Linked DNA regions of Homo sapiens: region 1 is linked to region 2. Evidence: promoter capture Hi-C in human tissues and cell types (Jung and others, 2019). All regions are on one chromosome and are shown on one strand. The core of a region is centred on a gene start or on the middle of the fragment in contact, and the rest is flanking DNA. Distances in the headings are between cores, read along the strand shown. Region 1 overlaps PLD3 (phospholipase D family member 3). Region 2 holds the start of HIPK4 (homeodomain interacting protein kinase 4).

The links. Contacts are between HindIII fragments. The study calls those that stand out against the background at their distance.
Region 1: a contact is called between a fragment that was not itself captured here and the fragment with the promoter of HIPK4 in region 2, in 7 of the 25 tissues and cell types used here (dorsolateral prefrontal cortex, lymphoblastoid cells, mesenchymal stem cells and 4 more).

The regions. Positions count from the first base shown.
Region 1 is chr19:40,354,564-40,357,263 of GRCh38, forward strand. The region is part of intron 1 of PLD3 (phospholipase D family member 3); the gene reads left to right. Among named protein-coding and RNA genes, the nearest start is that of PLD3, 7.2 kb to the left of the region's middle. RefSeq lists an enhancer at 1,350-1,539. The HindIII fragment of the contact is 9,182 bases long and covers 1-2,700 here.
Region 2 is chr19:40,388,804-40,391,592 of GRCh38, forward strand. It overlaps HIPK4 (homeodomain interacting protein kinase 4), which reads right to left and starts at 1,378. Exons shown (of 4, transcript NM_144685.5): 1 at 635-1,378. The coding sequence starts at 1,099. RefSeq lists enhancers at 731-1,280, 1,281-1,830. The HindIII fragment of the contact is 19,093 bases long and covers 1-2,789 here.

The sequences.
Region 1 (2,700 bases), core at 51-2,550, 34 kb before region 2:
CACCCAGGCTGGTGTGCAGTGGTGCAAGCTCAGTTCACTACAACCTCTGCCTCCCGGGTTCCAGTAGTTCTCCTGCCTCAGCCTCCCAAGTACCTGGAATTACAAGTGCGTACCACCACGCCCTGCTAATTTTTGTATTTTTAACAGAGACAGGGTTTCGCCATGTAGGCCAGGCTGGTCTCGAGCTCCTGACCTCAAGTGATCCACCTGCCTCAGCCTCCCAAAGTGCTGGGATTACAGGTGTGAGCCACCGTGCCCGGCTGTGTTATTTTTGTTTTTGTGTTGTTGTTTTGAGACTGAGTCTCACTCTGTCGCCCAGGCTACAGTGCAGTGGCATGATCTCAGCTCACTGCAACCTCCGCCTCCCAGGTTCAAGCGATTCTCATGCCTCAGCCCCCTCAAGTAGCTGGGACTATAGATGCACACCACCACGCCCTGCTAATTTTTGTATTTTTAGTACAGATGGGGTTTCACCATGTTGGCCAGGCTGGTCTCGAACTCCTTACCTCAAGTGATACACCCACCTCGGCCTCCCAAAGTGCTGGGATTACAAGCATGAGCCACCATGCCCGACCCTGTTGTTATTTTTGAACTGGGACATAAGCCTTTGGCAGTTGTGATGCCACTGTCTCCCTCCCCTGCTTTATTTTTTTCCAAGGCACATTCCATGTATTTCACTCATTTATTTTCACTCCCTCACTCCCTTAGTAGAATAACATCTTTAAGAAGATTTTTTTTCCTTTTTTTTTTGTTTTTTGTTTTTTTTGAGACAGAGTTTCGCTCTTGTTGCCCAGGCTGAAGTGCAGTGGCGTGATCTCAGCTCACCGCAACCTCTGCCTCCCAGGTTCAAGTGATTCTCCTGCCTCACCCTCCCAAGTAGCTGGGACTACAGGCACGCGCCACCAGGGCCTGGCTGATTTTGTATTTTTAGTAGAGACGGGTTTCTCCATGTTGGCCAGGCTGGTCTCGAACTGCCAACCTCAGATGATCCGCCTGCCTCAGCCTCCCACAGTGCTTGGATTACAGGTGTGAGCCACCGTGCCGGCTCCTTTTTTTTTTTTTTTTTTTTTTTTTCCTGCAATCTCAGTTTCTGGAGCAGGGCTTGTCAGCAAGTCATTATTGATTAAATATTAGTTGAATTAATAGATTAATTAACTGGCCACTGAGCACCTGCTATGCACTTTCCTATGCTCCATGGTACTGGGGACATGGCAGTGAGTTAGATAGCCTGGACCTGCCGTCATAGGTCTCCCAGTCAAATAGGAGAGACGAACCCATCATTAGGCACTGCCAGCAGCAAGCACTGCCAGCTAATCACAGCACTGATTTTGAGCAGGAGTGGGACAGCTTAGATTTCTCTAGTTCCAATTTAGAAGTGTTCACCATTCATGATGCTTTCTTGGACCTATTTAATTGTTTTTCAGACTGACCGTCTTCTCTCCCTAGGAGGCATAGGCAGAGGGATCAGGGCTGGGAAAGGGAGGCCCAGGGGACTGTGTGAGCCCAGAGGGCTTCATGGAGGAGGTGGTATGTGAGCGGACAGAAATGAGCAAGGTGTGCTCGGCAGGGAAAGCAGCTGTGGGAGGGTCTGGTGATGAAAGTGTGGTTTTGGTTCAAGGAACTGAAAGATCATAAATATGGCTGGGGTGGGAAGAACGGTGAGAGAGTAGGCCAAAGAGGTCATTCAGGGAAGATCATTCAAGGCCCTGTCAGCCACAGTGAGGAGCTGAGACTGTGTACTGAGGACACCGGGGAGCCACAGAGTTTTTGAGCAGGAGAGGGATGTGTCAAATTCACGTGGAGGTCGGATTGCAAGGATTGAGTGGAGTCTGGAAGCCAAGGGAGGTGGCTGGAGTGGGGACCCAGGTGGGAGAGACTAAGTCAGAGCTTGTGGGGGAGGGCGAATTGGAGAGACCCTCACAGGACCAAGTCGACAAATGGTTGGGGTCCAGGACAAGGCCCAGGGCTGGGGGTAGTCAAGGAGAGCTTTCTGGAGGAGGAGGCACCAAGGCTGAGACCTGAAGGATGGGTTCAACAGCTCTTCTTGAAATGGGGACCTGGGGCAGGAAGATGGTAAGGACAGTTGGGGACATAGTAGGTGTGGGAGTCTGGGGACACCTTGAAGGAGGTATCTGGGGGGCCCTGGAACCTCTAGAGCTGGAGTCAGGGGAAAGGAGGAAACAAGACAGAGCTTTGGGTTGAGAAAGAGGGAATTGAAGCTGTAATGATGGGGGAAGGTCCACAGGGGCCTGTCCATGTAGGGCTCTGTAGGACATGGTAAGAAGTTTGTCCTTTGTCCTGGGGGCAATGGGGAGCCACAGAAGGATTTTGAGCAGGAGTGAGACAGCTTAGGGTTTTTAAGTTCCAGTTCAGAAGTGTTTATCATTCATGATGCTTTTTGGACCTATTTAATTGTTTTTCAGACTGACTGACTTCTCTCCCTAGGAGGGGCACTTATTTTAAAGGGTCCGTTGAAATAAAAGATCTAACTGCTGAAAATGAAAAATCAGTTTGCAAAACCAGTGTTCTGTTCCGTTTTCTGTAGACAATTGATGGTTCAGTCCAAAGAGGTCAGAAACAATTGATGGTTTAGTCCAAAGAGGTCTGTACCATCTAGTGAAAATCAGCACCATTAAACATGAGAACATTTCTGTTTTAAACCATTTGGAAGCCCCGTGAATTTTATTTTATTTTGTTATT
Region 2 (2,789 bases), core at 128-2,627:
TGTTGAGGCCAAGGTGGGCAGATTGCTTGAACTCAGGACTTTGAGACCAGCCTGGGCAACATGATGAAATCCTGTTTCTACCAAAAAACACAAAAATTGGCTGGGCGTGGTGGCTCACGCCTGTAATCCCAGCACTTTGGGAGGCTGAGGCAGGTGGATCACAAGGTCAGGAGTTTGAGACCAGCCTGGCCAACATGGCGAAACTCCATCTCTACTAAAAATACAAAAATTAGCCGGGCATGGGTGGCGGGCACCTGTATTCCCAGCTACTCAGGAGGCTGAGGCAGGAGAATCGCTTGAACCCGGGAGGCGGAGGCAGTGAACCAAGATCATGCCATCATCACCCCGTCTCTGATAAGTACAAAAAAAAAATTAGCTGGGCGTGGTGGCGCATCCCTGTAATCCCAGCAACTCGGGAGGCTGAGGCAGGATAATCACTTGAACCCAGGAGGCGGAGTTGCAGTGAGCTGAGATTGTGCCACTGCACTCAAGCCTGGGTAACAGAATGAAACTCCGTCTCAAAAATAATAATAATAATAATTTTAAAAAATTAAAAAAAAAATCTAGGGCTGGAAGAAGCTGGGAAAAAGACAAGGAACTAGGGACGCAGCCACCCTAGACGACCCCTACTCACCTTGACCCTGAAGGGGCAGCGGGTCTGGTCCACCAGCATGATGTTCTCAGGCTTGAGATCAGCGTGGATGATAGCCAGCTCCTTGAGCCGGGCCAGGGCTGTGAGCACCTGCAGGGTGACTGTACGGATGTGGCGGGCGGGGAGGGGCGCGAAGTTGTTCTCCTTCTGGAACTCGAAAAGGTTTTGCTCCAGCAGCTCAAAGACCAGGTAGAACTTGAGGGCGTCATGGAAGAACTCAAGGAAGCGGATGACGTGGGCCTCTTCAGGGTCTAGGCCTCGCATGCAGTGCAGCAGCTTCAGCTCGTTCTTGATGATGCGGTTGCGGTAGGCGTCATTCTTGAGGATCTTGATGGCCACCATCTCGCCCGTGCTCCGCCGCCAGCCCTTGGCTACCTCCCCGAAGGTCCCCTTGCCCAAGACCTCGATGATGTCGTAGCAGTCAGTCTCCGACTGGATGGTGGACATGGTGCCGCTGCTGCCAGACACCGCCCTGCCCAGGCCCCTGTACCACTGGCTCTGCCGCCCAGGCCTCCCGCCTGGCTGCTGACACAGCAGGCCCCCCAGTGGGGGAAAGAGAACCGCACTCGTGTCTCCTCCTATGAGGTTGGCCCCTGCTTCCCTGGCACCCCCAAACCCCCAGGCCACACTGTCAGTCTGCCAGGGGCTGCACCCCTCCCCAGAAACCCTCCTGGCTTGGGATGAGGGGCCCCAGGCCCCACCGAATGGGTTCCAGCGCTGTTGAGTGGCTCTGGTTCTGTTGTTGGAGACCTGAGCCCTGGCTGGAGTGGGGGTGGGGTACCAGGCTGGGCCCCCTCCCCCGCCCAGTGGCGGAATCTTGCAAAGACCAAACAGGTGAAGTGTTGACAGAGGGGGGTCTAATCGTGGGCCTTGGGCATACAGGAATGGGGATAAGGCAGGAGTGAGGAAAGGTGGGCTTCTTGAGCTTGGGAGATGTGATGTGTGTGTGTCTGTGTTCAGAAAACTCCTGTCCCAGTCTGTGGCTACTGTGGGGTGAGGTTGTAAAAGGCCCTGAATGCCAGGCTAAGGAGTTTGGATTCTGTTCTGAGGGCACTGGGGAGCCACAGAAGGGCTTTGAGCAGGGGAGGGCAGGGTCAGATATGAGTGTCAGAAAGTTACTGTATGAAAAGGGATAGGTTGGAGCGGGTAAGAGTGGAAGCCCCAAGCCAGGGAAAGAGTCCAGGACAGGGCACAGATGGGAGAGGTTGGGGAGGAGAGGGCGAGGCCAATGGATGAGACACTCAAAAGGCCAGGAGAAGCAGCCGTGAGACCGACGGTTTGAGGGAAAGGCGGGAGCTGTCTAAGAACGGGCCTAGGGCTCTGGGATGAAGGGGCAGTCCCCGAGAAATGGACATGGATAAGAAGCAGCTTGGGGGAGATGTTGAGGCCAAATTAGAAAATGTATTTATTTTTGGCTGGGTGCGGTGGGTCACGCCTGTAATCCCAGCACTTTGGGAGGCCAAGGAAGGCAGATCATAAGGTCAGGAGATCGAGACCATCCTGGCTAACACGGTGAAACTCTGTCTCTACTAAAAATACTAAAAATTAGCCAGGCATAGTGGAGGGCGCCTGTAGTCCCAGCTACTCGGGAGGCTAAGGCAGAAGAATAGCTTGAACCCGGGAGGTGGAGGTTGCAGTGAGCCGAGATTGCACCACTGCACTCCAGCCTGGGTGACAGAGCGAGACTCCATCTCAAAAAAAAAAAAAAAGTGTTCATTTTTATTTATCTTTTTAATTTTTTGTAGAAATGGGGTCTCACTATGTTGTCCAGGCTGGTCTCAAGTGATCCTCCTGGCCTCAAGTGATCCTCCTGCCTCAACCTTCCAAAGTGCTGGGATTGTAGACATGAGCCACCACTCCAGCCAGATTAGAATATTTAACAGCGGGCCGGGCTCGGTGGCTCATGCCTGTAATCCCAGCACTTTGGGAGGCTGAGGCAGGTGGATCACCTGAGGTCGGGAGTTCGAGACCAGCCTGACCAACATGGAGAAACCCCGTCTCTACTAAAAATACAAAATTAGCCGGGTGTGTTAGCACATGCCTGTAGTCCCAGCTACTCAAGAGGCTGAGGTCGGCAGGCTGAGGTATGAGAACTGCTTGAACGCGGGAGGTGGGGTTGCAGTGAGCCAAGATTGCG